3 separate regions of the Homo sapiens genome follow, and regions 1 and 2 are each linked to region 3. The links are contacts of gene promoters, found by promoter capture Hi-C in blood cells and fetal thymus (Javierre and others, 2016). All regions are on one chromosome and are shown on one strand. Each heading gives the region's core, a stretch centred on a gene start or on the middle of the fragment in contact. The rest is flanking DNA. Distances are from core to core; before and after follow the strand shown. Region 1 holds the start of PPM1D (protein phosphatase, Mg2+/Mn2+ dependent 1D). Region 2 holds the start of BCAS3 (BCAS3 microtubule associated cell migration factor). Region 3 holds the start of BRIP1 (BRCA1 interacting DNA helicase 1).

The links. The method cuts DNA at HindIII sites, captures the fragments that hold promoters and counts their contacts. A CHiCAGO score of 5 or more calls a contact.
Region 1: a contact is called between the fragment with the promoter of PPM1D here and the fragment with the promoter of BRIP1 in region 3, in 1 of 17 cell types (non-activated CD4 T cells). The highest score is 5.2, in non-activated CD4 T cells.
Region 2: a contact is called between the fragment with the promoter of BCAS3 here and the fragment with the promoter of BRIP1 in region 3, in 1 of 17 cell types (M0 macrophages). The highest score is 9.2, in M0 macrophages.

Annotation. Positions count from the first base shown.
Region 1 is chr17:60,597,386-60,602,251 of GRCh38, forward strand. PPM1D (protein phosphatase, Mg2+/Mn2+ dependent 1D) reads left to right here and starts at 2,808. Exons shown (of 6, transcript NM_003620.4): 1 at 2,808-3,501. The coding sequence starts at 3,030. RefSeq lists enhancers at 1,741-2,729, 2,730-3,717, 2,878-2,927. The HindIII fragment of the contact is 9,172 bases long and covers 1-4,866 here.
Region 2 is chr17:60,676,435-60,680,861 of GRCh38, forward strand. BCAS3 (BCAS3 microtubule associated cell migration factor) reads left to right here and starts at 1,417. Exons shown (of 24, transcript NM_017679.5): 1 at 1,417-1,480; 2 at 3,019-3,106. The coding sequence starts at 3,024. RefSeq lists a silencer at 797-1,550 and enhancers at 969-1,138, 1,309-1,458. The HindIII fragment of the contact is 12,302 bases long and covers 1-4,427 here.
Region 3 is chr17:61,862,143-61,866,837 of GRCh38, forward strand. BRIP1 (BRCA1 interacting DNA helicase 1) reads right to left here and starts at 1,386. Exons shown (of 20, transcript NM_032043.3): 1 at 1,142-1,386. INTS2 (integrator complex subunit 2) reads right to left here. Exons shown (of 25, transcript NM_001351695.2): 25 at 3,225-4,695. The HindIII fragment of the contact is 2,381 bases long and covers 1-1,715 here.

The DNA of each region.
Region 1 (4,866 bases), core at 1,558-4,057, 1.3 Mb before region 3:
AATTTTTGTATTTTTAGAAGTGACAGTGTTTTGCCATGTTGGCCAGGCTGGTCTCCACTCCTGGCCTTAAGTGATCTGCCCGCGTTGGCCTCCCAAAGTGCTGGAATAACAGGTGTGAGCCACTGTGCCTGGCCTACATTATATTAAATGTGATGGAAGCCATGTATTGAGTAAAAGAATGACTTGATCTGATTCATGGTTTTTGAAAGATCGCTATAGTACCTAGCGGAAAAAGGATAGCAGAGGGCCAAGAGTGAAAGAAAGATTTGTGAGGAGGCGAGTGTAGTGGTCCAGGTAAGAGGTAATAGTGGCCAGATATGGTGGCTCACACCTGTAGTCCCAGCTACTAGGGAGGCCGAGGCACGAGAATTCCTTGATCCCAGGAGGCAGAGGTTGCTAGTGAGCCGAGATCACGTCACTGCACTCCAGCCTGGGTGATGGAGGGAGACTCTGTCTCAAAAAAAAGAAAAAAAACAGAACATATTTATACACAAATGGAAATGACCCAGAAGAGGAGAAATTAGTCTGGGTGTGGTGACATGTGCCTTAATCTCAGCTACTTGGGGGCTAAAGTTGGAGGATCACTTGAGGTCAGGAGTTTGAGGCTGCAGTGAGCTATAATTGCGCCTGTGAATAATCACTGCACCCCAGCCTGGGCATCATAGACCCCGTCTTTAACATTTAGAAAGACAGAGAGAAAGGAGAGATTGATGAGGCAGGAGCAAGGAGGATAATTGTTGGAGCAGTAAAACTCTTGAAAAGGAGACAGTATGGAAGATATGGATAGTATCTTGAAAAATAAAGTGGATGAGAAGTGACACGAATAGTGGAAGAAACAAAGACGGTGGGCTATGAAAAATGATGGGGAGATACCAGGGATCAGTAGCTGACAGCATCTCAGAGTAGCAGCAGTCTGCATAAATTTTAAAAGCACTTGAGTTTCTGAGGGAGGAAGGAAGAGAAGTGGTTTGGAGGTAATATGAGGAATAGGCCACAGATAAGAATACCTATGAGAGGAAAAATAACCTCCTGTACTTGAAAAGTTGCAAGGGAGGTAGTTTTGCTAAGTGATAAACCGGGTTTCAGTTGGAATGGGAAGTTGATGGGAACATTTACAGAAGAGGCTAAGAATAAAGGGGAAGTGGTTGATGGCAGATGTTGAAATCAAAAGTGTGAAGTGAAATGGTTAGGATATTTGGTGAAGAGTGGGATATGGAATCAGAGTAATTGAAGCAGAGAGTAGCATGGAGATACTAGAGCAATAAACGGATGACGCAGATCCTACTGGTTGTGATTGAGGTGGAAAGGATTATAAAGCATGATGGAATTATCTTTTGGTAATCTCTTGGGTCAAACGTGGTGAACGGTAAGATGAATAATATAGAGCTACACAAACCGTTCTTGTGATATGGAGGCTGCTCCCTAATTACAATGCTAATATTTCATTTAGGATTTTTGTATTCATCGTTACAAAACAGGGTCTGTAGGTTTCCTTTTAGTGTTCATAATGCTTAGGTTTTACTAACAGGGTTATGATTACCTCTCCAAACAAGCTGGGATTTTTTTTTTCAAGCGTTTCCATGCCCTGGAACCATCTGGTCTAGTGCTTTTTGGGGTAATGAATATCTTCAATTGTATTTATTTTTACTTAGTTGATCTATTCAGATTTTCTACATTTTCTTGAGCTGATTTTGCTTATTTATATTTTTATTGATATAAAGATTTTTTCTATTTTTATTTCTTGTGCCAACTGTATGTACATTCCCCCCATTCCCGTTTCCATACTGTTTTTAGGCCATTTGAAAATCTCAAAGGTTTTACAGGAAAGTACAGATTGATGAAGAAATGGCCAAAAACGGGAAAAGTGAACTTTAAAGTGATTCAACTACAAAACGTATGCTACTGAGCAAATACTAGTGTATTCCTCGCTCTGCGGCTTAACTCCATGAAAATCCGTGCAAAGGTTTTAGCGTTGGGATTGTGACCGACTCGGTGAAGAGAGGGGACGATCACCAAACCGTTAGAGCACTGGGGCTCTTGGCAGTGTTTGTCAGTTATTTTCAAGTGATAACTTGAAGTGATACCGCAGGAATAAAATGCTGTATCCAGAGCTGGTCGGAACGAGCACTACCTTTAACAAAAGCTGAAAAGATCTGCCTAGGAATTCGTTAGAATACAGCCCTCTTACGTCTCTGACATACCTAGTTATGTGAACCGAGACTGTGCAGCTGACGGTGGAAATTTCCTAAGTGCTTTTTAAACAACAGAACTGGACTCCCTCCCTCCTCCATTCCCAGTCGAATACGTCCCACCCAGATCCAGCTCAAGGGTGCAGCACTTGTTCCGGCCAGCTCACAATCGCCCTTTGGAAGGGAGGTTTCCCGCCATTTCGCTTAGGAGGAGGGTGAACTCTTCTCCCTTCATTCTCCACTCGCTGGGGGCCCGAGCCCACACCACCTTCCTAGCAAAGCAAGCAGCGGGACGCCAAGGCCAGCAGGCCGCATTAAGAACGCTGGACTGAGCCAAAAGCCTACACAGACCAAGCCGCTCGGGAAAGGATCAACAACTGCCGACAACCCGGAGGGCGAAAACGCCCGCGGCGTAGGGGAAGCAAACTAGGAGATGCGCGGGCCCAGCGCCAGCGGCGGGAGGAGGCAGCGCGGCCGTCGCAGGCGGGAGCGAAGGCGGGGACGGAGGGCGGGCTCGCTCCACTCGACTCCGGATTGGTCGAGCTTAGAGAGCCGAGTGACGTCAGCGGGGGAGAACGCCTGATTTGTGTGGTGGGCGCGGGCGGTGGGGGGAAGCGCAGTGCGCAGGCGCAACTGCCTGGCTCTGCTCGCTCCGGCGCTCCGGCCCAGCTCTCGCGGACAAGTCCAGACATCGCGCGCCCCCCCTTCTCCGGGTCCGCCCCCTCCCCCTTCTCGGCGTCGTCGAAGATAAACAATAGTTGGCCGGCGAGCGCCTAGTGTGTCTCCCGCCGCCGGATTCGGCGGGCTGCGTGGGACCGGCGGGATCCCGGCCAGCCGGCCATGGCGGGGCTGTACTCGCTGGGAGTGAGCGTCTTCTCCGACCAGGGCGGGAGGAAGTACATGGAGGACGTTACTCAAATCGTTGTGGAGCCCGAACCGACGGCTGAAGAAAAGCCCTCGCCGCGGCGGTCGCTGTCTCAGCCGTTGCCTCCGCGGCCGTCGCCGGCCGCCCTTCCCGGCGGCGAAGTCTCGGGGAAAGGCCCAGCGGTGGCAGCCCGAGAGGCTCGCGACCCTCTCCCGGACGCCGGGGCCTCGCCGGCACCTAGCCGCTGCTGCCGCCGCCGTTCCTCCGTGGCCTTTTTCGCCGTGTGCGACGGGCACGGCGGGCGGGAGGCGGCACAGTTTGCCCGGGAGCACTTGTGGGGTTTCATCAAGAAGCAGAAGGGTTTCACCTCGTCCGAGCCGGCTAAGGTTTGCGCTGCCATCCGCAAAGGCTTTCTCGCTTGTCACCTTGCCATGTGGAAGAAACTGGGTAAGTTCCCTGGCTTGTTTGGCGCCCGCCCCTTTTTCAGGCAGTTCAGGGCTTTTATGGCACCAGCCCCGCGTGGGCCCCCGGCACCCAGAGCGCAACCAAAGTATACACTGATGGAAGTGACTAAAAGCTGTAATAGCGCTTTGCTGGGTGGAGGTCCGGGCAAACCAAGCGGCCTTGGGGAAGATAGGATTGCCGTCTCCCTGCAGCCTATTCTTGCTTTATTTCCATCCTCCAAGGATCAATGGGAAGCAGTCCACTCCCTTCCCTGCTTCACTTTGGTGGCAACCAGAGGAAACGTGTTTGAAACCTGGCGCCAGATTTTGGCCAAAAGATAAATCGATGTTGCACCTGGGCCAGGCGAAGGAAAAACTGTAGTGTTTCCTTAGAGAATCTGTCATAATTCTGCTCCTGAAAGTCTTATCCCTCTCGGTTGCCTCCTACCGGTGGTGTCAGTTCTCCAGATTGACCCGGGATTGCTGGGGTTGGTTGCTGGAGTAAAGCGTAAGCTAATTTAGAAGGGCTGAAACGTAACCATCCGGCAACTTAAAGTTTTGGAAGGAATTCCGTTGTAATGATGGTGAGATGTTTTTAGGATCATAAACCTGTACTGCTTATGAAAACTAAAAACGCGGAACGTGTTGTTACCTCTTAAAAACTGGCCCCGTGTTAAGGGTGTGCGTTAGATTCTGCTTGGGTTTTCTTTTTGGAAATTGCCTTAGCTGATTGCTTTCAGATAGTTCCCAACCGGTTGTTCCTAGTTTAAAAAGTACTTATAAATTGTAACTGCCCATCAAAATAAGAAAAGGCAAGGAATTACTGTATGCTAGAAGGAAATAAAGGTCTTAAATGTCTAAAAATTTCGGTGTAGTTGTAGTTTCATCTAAGTTTTTTTAAATGTTTGTAAAGCAGGCAGGATTTCTGTGCCCAACATTTACAGAATCATCTTACAGCATTATAATTGCTTATCTATTGCAGTGAATAAATGGCATGCATCTTTGTTAGAGCAAAGAAGACAATACTTCCAGTGGTGGGAAAAAACCTTGTTTATGGCAGCATAATAACGTTGCTTTATTTTCAGCAGAGGGATAGAGACATAGAGAAAAGAGTTAGATTTAGCAAATACAGAACATTTTTAGAAAGGTATTGTCATAGAGTTGTAGATTAGCCGGTTTCAAAGTCTGTTTTCCATTTGCTTGGCTTTCTGCCAAGAGTTAGTTGATTGACTCAAAAACCAGCCACTAGGCTTGTTGGAGGCGTTTCCCATCCATCCCAGGGGCCCCTCTTTATGGATTTATTTTGTTTTTGTGTAGGCACCGTAGAGCTGAAAGCACTGTAGTGTATTGTAGAAATATGTGATATCAT
Region 2 (4,427 bases), core at 167-2,666, 1.2 Mb before region 3:
GATTACAGGCGTGCACCATCAAAACCCGCTGATTTTTGTATTTTTAGTAGAGACAGAGTTTCACAAAGTTGGCAAGGCTGGTCTTGACCTCCTGACCTCAAGTGATCTGCCCCTCTCAGCCTCCCAAAGTGCTGGGATTACAGGTGTGAGCCACCGTGCCCGGCCTTTTCTTTCATTTCTTTTTTTAAAATTTTTTAAAATTTTATGTATGTATGTATGTATGTATGTATGTATGTATGTATGTATGTATCTATCTATCTATCTATCTATCTATCTATCTATCTATCTATCTGTCTTGAGAGGGACTCTCTGTCACCCAGGCTAAAGTGCTGGAGGGCAATGGCGTGATCTATAGGCTCACTGCAATCTCCGCCTCCTGGGTTCAAGCAATTCTTCCGCCTCAGCCTCCCCAGTAGCTAGGATTACAGGCATTGGCCACCACACCTGGCTATTTTTAGTAGAGACGGGGTTTCTTCATGTTGTCCAGGCTGTTCTAGAACTCCTGGCCTCAAGCGATCTTCCCGCCTAGGCTTCCCAAAATGTTGGGATTGCAGGCGTGAGCCACCACGCCCAGCCCACCACGCCTGTTAATAAGCTATACCCTCACGGACCTGTCATTGGCATTAAATTTGATAATACATTAGAGTATTGTATATGAAGTATACGAAGGCCTGTGCTGAGTGTTCAAGAAGTCAGTCAGTATTATTCTACTTATATTAATAAATGAACTGATGAAATGACAATGGCGAGATCTCGATCTTCAACAATAAGGGAGATGGAAACTGAAGCAAGAAGTGGTCTACAAACCTAGCTCAAATTGTTGAGATTACCGGCCGTGCCCCTTATTCAGATCAACCCCTCCTCGGCTGATCGCCGGCGCGAGCCAGCCTAGGCTCCCGGAAGGTAAACACATCGCCAAGGGCTGGGCAGAAGGCGGGTGTGGGACGGGTGAGTGGCCAGCTAAAAGTGATTGGCAGCTGCCATGTCCACGTGCTCCGAGCTTGGAACCAGCTGTCGCGAGAATTCGATGTAAACAGACCAGTCTCCCTGTCCTCCGGCTCCAACCTGAAACGCTCACGTGAGCGGGACAGGAGTCTGGATCATGTTGCTTTTCTTTTCAAAGCCACGAAGGTTCTGTCTTCCAAAAAAAATGTACATGTTCGTAATTATTCCCCAGCTGCCTGCGTTTGCAACCGAACCTGACACCTCGGCTTCACCCGAACTTACATGCTGTTGTGTTTTCCCTCCAGCCCCAGCGGATTGGACACATTCAGAAGGCGGGTCCGCCTCTTTCCTACTTGCTGGTTGGCGAAGCTGACCTCCAAGGGCGGTGCCCGGCCATAGCCGGTTTGCTTCTGGGATTGGCTAGAGGGGGTGGTTCCGCTGAGGCGTGGTAGGAAGTGGCTGCCGTCAATCACTCGGGGAGACTCCAAACAGTGAGCCTAGAGCTGGAGACTAGCGTTAACCGGCGGGGCGGCCGGTGAGAGGGCTGGCAGGGCTTTGGCTTTGGGGAGGCTTGGGGAGGACGAGGGACTGGCGGCGTGAGGGGACTGGGTCGGGCTGGCAGGAATTCGACAGGAGAGAGGTGTCGATACTGGAGGGGGAGGGGAACAGTGCAAGGGGCCGGAGGGCGGCCGGGGGCAGCGGTGGCTCCGTGTTGGAGGTTAAGTGGGCAGCGCCGTACGAGTGTCTTTCAGGAGACTGGGGCCTGAGTGGCTGGCGAGGGTCGTCCCCAGGAGACAGGGCCCTTAAAGGGCAGGGCTTGGGAGACTGTGGTTCGAGAAAGCAAGAATGGGATGAGAATGAGAGGGCTGAGGGGCTGGAGGTGCAGGTATCCTCTGAGGAGGTGGTGGCTCTGCTCCTTGGGGCAGAGGGTGTTTTGGTTGTAGGAGGTGGGGCGCACAGGTTTAGAGTTTTCACATCAGGTGTGAATGCTCCCTACTTAAAAATGGTTTTCGGTGCCTTCAAGATGAGTTCCAGGTTGTGGGCTTCCCTGAGCCCTGTAAGAGATCTTTGATATTGCTGTCAGTCCTCTTTTAACCTTAACCAAGCCGACTCCATGCTCTTAAAATCTCAGTGATTCAGAGGGTCATGAAACATTCTAGGATCAGGATTTACTGATGTGACGGGAAAGGGTAAAGGGCTGTAACAACGTATTAGTTTATGTTAGTTATTTGACTACTTGCTACTAGTCAAATAATTACTTGACTTATTTGTTATAGTAGCAGGGGGTTACGAATGTGATTTAAATTGTGATTTACTCATAGATTCCCAACAGGTTTAATTGGAAGGTAGAGTGATATCATGTCACTTGTTCCGTTTGGTCTTGAAATATTGTACCATGTGTATTTTCACTATCTCAACATAAAATTGCAGTAAATTCCCATCCCATGATCTGGTTCTCTCACCCTTGTAATTTATGTTAACAACAGACCAAGGGGTACAGCAGGAGTCTTCCTTACATTGTTTTGTGGTTCTGAGACCTGGTCCTATTAAAAAACAAAACAGGATGGGCGCGGTGGCTCAAGCCTATAATCCCAGCACTTTGGGAGGCTAAGGCGGATGGATTGCTTGAGCTCAGGAGTTCGAGACCAGCCTTGGCAACATGGTGAAACCCCGTCGCTACAAAAAAATATAAAATTTAGCTCGGCATGGTGGCGCTCGCCTGTAATCCCAGCTACTCAGGAGGCTGAGGCAGGAGAATTGCTTGAGCCTGGGAGGCGGAGATTGCCATGAGCAGAGATCGTGCCACTGAACTCCAGCCTGGGCGACAGAGCGAGACTCTATCTCAAAAATAATAATAACCCCCCAAACCCCTCATTATAATTTGAAAAAAATTAAAAACCTACTTCCTCCTTTTTTCCCTTTCTGGTGTAACAGGAATTTCTGGGAAAGTTTCCTACATTTGAGGCATTTTTGACAAGGGATCTCTAGTGAGTAATCATAAATCTTCCTCCCTACCCCCAACAACGATCCATGTTTTTCTGTTTTTTGTTTGTTTGTTTGTTCTGGAAACAGGTTTTATGAATGAAGCTATGGCTACAGATTCCCCAAGAAGACCCAGTCGTTGTACTGGTGGAGTTGTGGTTCGCCCCCAGGCTGTCACGTAAGCACATTTCAGATAAACCCAATAGCTGAAGAAAAGATTACTCAGAATACTAACATTTAGGTTTTCTTTATGAACAGTGGTTACTTTTGTAAAAATCTTTTAACTGTTGGCTTTATGGGATGAATAATAATAATTGCCAAGACCAAATGAAGAATTGGAGAGTTAAGTTGACGTATTCAGCACATTTACAGAGTACGTGAAGAGCACTATGCTAAATCCTGAAGAGCAGTGTTTTCAAACTCCAGGTTTAACAAATTAGTGGATTGTTAAATCAGTTTAGTGGGTCAGGAGTTGTAGTAGAAAATGAAATAGAGGCCGGGCGCAGTGGCTCATGCCTGTAATCCCAGCACTTTGGGAGGCCCAGGCAGGCGGATCACGAGATCAGGAGATCGAGACCATCCTGGCTAAAACGGTGAAACCCTGTCTCTACTAAAAATACAAAAAATTAGCCGGGTATGGTGGCCCCTGTAGTCCCAGCTACTCGGGAGGCTGAGTCAGGAGAATGACGTGAACCTGGGAGGTGGAACTTGCAGTGAGCTGAGATCGCGCCACTGCACCCTAGCCTGGGCGACACAGCAAGACTCTGTCTCCAAAAAAAAAAAAAAAAAGAAAGAAAATGAAATAGAATATAATAGAAAATTAGAAAATATAGCTGAGAGTTTGTATTGTTTCATGACATGCACATAAATATGTTCATGTGTATGTATATATTTACCAGACAGTGATGTAAAATGTATCTCTTTTAACTTTTAAGTTCAAGGGTACATGTGCAGGTTTGTTATATAGGGAAACTCATGTCACAGGGGTTTGTTGTACAGATTATTTCATCACCCAGGTATTAAGCATAGTCCCCATTAGTTATTTTTCCTGACCCTCTCCCCGCTCCCACCCAACTCTGATAGGCACCAGTGTGTGGTGTTCCCGTCTATGTATCCATGTGTTATCTATAAAAGGAATCTCTTAGTCTAGGTCTCTGTCAGAAAGTTTCAAAGTAAGTGTCATAGTATATGTCTCTGTTTTTGGCATTCTTTGACAAAGAATGTCTATACTTACTAGAGTGAGTTTATAATCTAATATGGTTTGAAGATATGTATACTTTTTTTTTTTTTTTAGATGGAGTCTCACTCTGTTGCCCAGGTTGGAGTGCAGTGGCGCCGTCTCGGCTCGCTGCAGCCTCCACCTCCTCCTCTGTCTCCCAGATTCAAGCGATTCTCCTGCCTTGGCCTCCCAAGTAGCTGGGATTACAGGCGAGCGCCACCAGGCCTGGCCAAATTTTGTATTTTTAGCAAAGACGGGGTTTTGCCATTTGGCCAGGCTG
Region 3 (4,695 bases), core at 136-2,635:
TTTGACTCAGGTATGTTATCTTTGACATATCTTTTTACTTCTCTAGTCTAAGATCCTTACCTGTGATAACCCCTAATTTAATTTAAAGGCTGTTATAAGAAAGAGAATGCCTTGGCACATAGTAGGCACTCAAAAATGTTATTTGAAGATCAGTAGAGTATTATAGAAACAGGATGGGCTTTGGAGTAAGGCAATCCTAAGTTTGAATTCCACTGTGTGAATCACTTAACTTCTCAGAGCTTGTTTCTCCATATATGGAATTGAAATACTACTACTTACCTGACAGGGTTTTTATGAAAATTAGCCAGGGCAGAATGTACCTAACCCAGGATCTGATACAGATGAGGATCACTTTAATCCTCACCTCTTCTAAACCACTTTTCTTAACCTAGGATCCACGGATGTAATTCAGAGACAATGACCTCTTGAAATTGCAAGCATAAGTTTCTGTACATGATTGCATTTTTCTGAAGAAAAAGTCCATAGATTTCTCTTCCCGTAAATATATCTCAAGGAAATCAAAATAGCGGGGGAAATTACATGCACTGTTATTAAATAAGGAATTATTTGCAGTCGTGGGAAAAAATTGTAAATTCAACCTGGGGACGAAGAGATGGTTAAAATAGCAATTCAATAGATTATGAAGCCAATAATAACATTCACCACTGCTTGTGTGCTCCAAAAGAAGAACCATTATTCTAGGGTATTTTCCAGCTCTAACATTTTGCGATTCTATCTGTAAAGCTCTGAGAATGAGGTATGGTGGAATCTAACCTCTTAATATGAATCAACAACTCAACGCTGGCCTAGTTACTCAGATATAATCTAGAAATCAGCCCGTCCTGTACCCCGGCTGTGGCAACAATAGTGTCAAAATGGGGTAGCTTCCCCCAAACATTGCATAAAGGATAAACACACCCCTCTGCCTCCCGCCAAGAATTAACGCAGCGCCCGGGCTAAGAACAGGCCTGCGCTCAAAGGAGGTAAGGATAGGCTCCCTCCTCAGGTTTTCTGCCCCGTATCTCCCTCCTCCCCCAGCCAGTTGAGATCCCCGAGACCCTGGTGATCCAGTCACCACCCATGGGCCCGCAGGCTGTGCAGAAGAACTCAAGCCCTTTCCGTGGACTTCCCTCCGACTTGCCTGTCTGGAGGGAAACCGAAGCAACGCTCTGAGCTCCGATTCACTGAAGAAAAGGAAAGGAAACCGACTTCTGAGAGCAAATAAAGCGGAGCCCTGGAAGAGAAGAAAGGGCACGAGCCCTTCCTCCTCCCTCTTCCTGGGGGTGCTGCTACTTCCCCGGCCTTGTGTGCAGGACTGGGGCCGCCGTTACCTTTCCTCGACCCACCAGACCCCTCAACCACACAACCCGAGACGAATTCCCGCCTCCCGCCCCCTCGACTCCCAGCGCCCAATAGCCCAGCGAGCTCGACCAATCACCCGCCAAGGCCAGGAATCAACCAGTCCCGGTGCGAGGTGAGGGGGCGAGAACTTCGGCATCCAATGGAAGTCTCCGAAAAAAAAAAAAAAAAACAAGGGCTCAAGGTACGCGGCGGAAGGTTGTCGCCACTCCAGCAAATCCCTAGTGTTTGTTTAAAGTAGAAAGTCGTCTCAGTTTGACTTTTGAAACCGGCGATAGAGTCTATGCAGCAAATTCCTTGGAAACTGGAAGTCTCATTCTTCACGTCCGTAGACCAGCGGAAAGGAAGTATCTTTAAGCTTTGCCAAGTTCTTTGAGCATTTATCAGTGCCACTCAATTTAAATTACCCAGCTTTGCAGTAGCCAGGATAGCGAAGACTCAGGCGGGAATTGCCAGACTGCTGAGCCAAACTTAAGTAAGAAGGCTCTGTGACATCGGGCTACAATCTATCTTTCATAATATTCAAGGCTTTCCCGGATGCTAAAATAAGCCAGAGACAAGCTCTCAGGGTCTCCAGTATCAGATCACTTCTACTTCCATTAAGGCTTATCCGCCTTCCATCCCTCCTAAGACCAGTTTATTATTTGCCAGTAGTACTTTAATTTACTCAAAGAAAAGGAGGTTCATCATGATCTTGCCAAATCATGTTATTTTTTTAAAAAATCTGTATAACCTAAACTTGGCTCAAATAATAATGTCTCCAAAAGGCAAAACCTCATACTGTTTCTCAAATTCAAGTAACTAGTTTGGGGAAGGAGTTTGCTGGGAAGAAAGAGCAGGAGGGGGCTAGTTGATTTGTTTGCCTCATTGTCAATTGTGATATATCTTACCAAAAATGACAAAACTTGTAGTCATAAAAATAAACTCTACCCTTTGACCTAGTAATCTGAGCTCCAGATATTTATCCTAAAGACGTAATCTAAACGAAAGAAAATGTGATACCGCAATTGACAATAATATCTATTGGTAATACTGAAAAAAATTATGAACTTCCCAGTCTAGTAATATGGAGGTGGTTATGACAGATGAATTCAATACATTATGAAGCCAATAAACTTATAAAAATTAAACTTGCAAGAAAAAATCCCATATAAGGTTAAGTGAAAAAAGGCAAAGCAAACCCCAAACTGGGTGTTAGGGATTCAGTAATGTGAAAATACATATGAATGAGCAAAGATGAAGTAATTTACTGTTAAGACAATGAAAGGAAGGATAATGTTTAAAAATAAATCCTTAAAAATACCTTCAAATTGTCATTTCTCTTTTATAATTTTTAAAACATCAACTCTTGGCCGGGCGCAGTGGCTCACGCCTGTAATCCCAGCACTTTGGGAGGCCGAGGCAGGCGGATCACCAGGTCAGGAGACCAAGACCATCCTGGCTAACACGGTGAAACCCCGTCTCTACTAAAAATACAAAAAATTAGCCGGGCGTGGTGGCGGGCGCCTGTAGTCCCAGCTACTCGGGAGACTGAGGCAGGAGAATGGCGTGAACCCAGGAGGCGGAGCTTGCAGTGAGCCGAGATGGCGCCACTGCACTCCAGCCTGGGAGACAGAGCGAGACTCCGTCTCAAAAAAAAAAAAAATCAACTCTTTTGAGTAACTGCTCTAGTATAACTACTCTCATTTTCCTCTCCTAAATTACTAAGAGTTTCAACTGGCTCTCACCTTGCATTGCCATTTAATGTATGTGGCATAACAGAAAGGGATACACGTAGGCCCTGGAGCCATACAGACCTCGAATACAGTCCCTTGAACCGTTCCCTTCAGGTTAACTCTAGTGGAATGAAACACAAAAACTACAGGTTCGTTTGATAAAGAATATGAATGTTTATAAACCAATATTCAAAATAGCTGCACACATCTGTTTTCACTTGAATAAAAAAACACATTGTGACAAATTTTATAACCTTAACTTAAAATACATGAATATTAACATTTACTAATATATTTACACATTTTATTTACATCATCAACAAATCTGATGAAAAAGAGCATATGTGATTATTTTAACACAGCAGGTTATGACCAGTCTTTGAATATTGATCCAGGAATGTGCACTGCATTTAATTAGAAAACATACTTTTAACTTTTTCTGAACTCCTAGGGCATATCTATTCACACAAAATATCGCAAGGCCTCAGTTTAAAAAAAAAAGGAGCAGTTGTATTTAATCTTAAGGGACTACAAAACTGCCTTGTTTAAAAATATGAAAATTCTTATGCTATTTTTAAGATACTTTTATTACTTTTATTTTTCACATCAAAATTACTTAATTGAACATTAAGCATCTAATAAAAAGTTATAAATATTCTATCACATGTGATACTATGCACTTCATGATTTGAAACAGCTACAAACTCATTCTCATAGAATATGAGGTAGGGCCAGTAGTAACCCCATTTTACAAAGGAAGAAAATGAGATGTGACTATTTACTAGTGAAAAGGCTAAAGTTAAATTTCATTTCTCAAAAACTACACCTTCTTATTAGCCTAATTTCTTTTACAAGTGAAGCGGTCTGGCCAGGTGCGGTGGCTCACACCTGTAATCCCAGCACTTTGGGAGGCCAAGGTGGGCAGATCACCTGAGGCCAGGAGTTCAAAACCAGTCTGGGCAACATGGCAAACCCCCGTCTTTACTAAAAATACAAAAATACAGGTGGCGCGTGCCTGCAGTCCCAGCTACTCAGGAGGTTGAGGCACGAGAATCCCTTGAACCCAGGTGGCAGAAGTTGCAGTGAGCCAAGATCATCCCACTGCACTCCAGCCTGGGCAACAGGGGAAGACTCCACCTCAGGAAAAAAAAAAAAAAAACACAAGTGAAGAGGTCTGTTTCAAGTGGGGGTGGGGAAGTGTGTGATTGAGGTATATCTCAGAGAGAAAAAAGGGAATTACTTTCTACATTGATAATTTTTTTTTAATGATTAGGGTTTACCTGAATATGTCTGCCTAATCAATGGAAGTTACTGACAGAGGACTGCAAAATCCTTCGGCAAGACAATATTTTCTACACTTTAACTTTTCCTCAGGTTCAAACACTGCATTTTCTTACTCAAAGATCTTCTCAAAGTAAGATATGAATTATAATCCTGATGACAAACCAAGAGCTCTTTAATCCAGTGGGTTTTATTGCTCTACCTTCATTTAATTTGATACATATTTCCCCCCTCTGAGCATTAGGTAAGTTAATAAAGCATTATAAAAATAAATTTAAAACATAAAACTAAATGAGATCTCTCAGGTTCTTCTTTGAACAAAGATGTTTCTGTAAACACT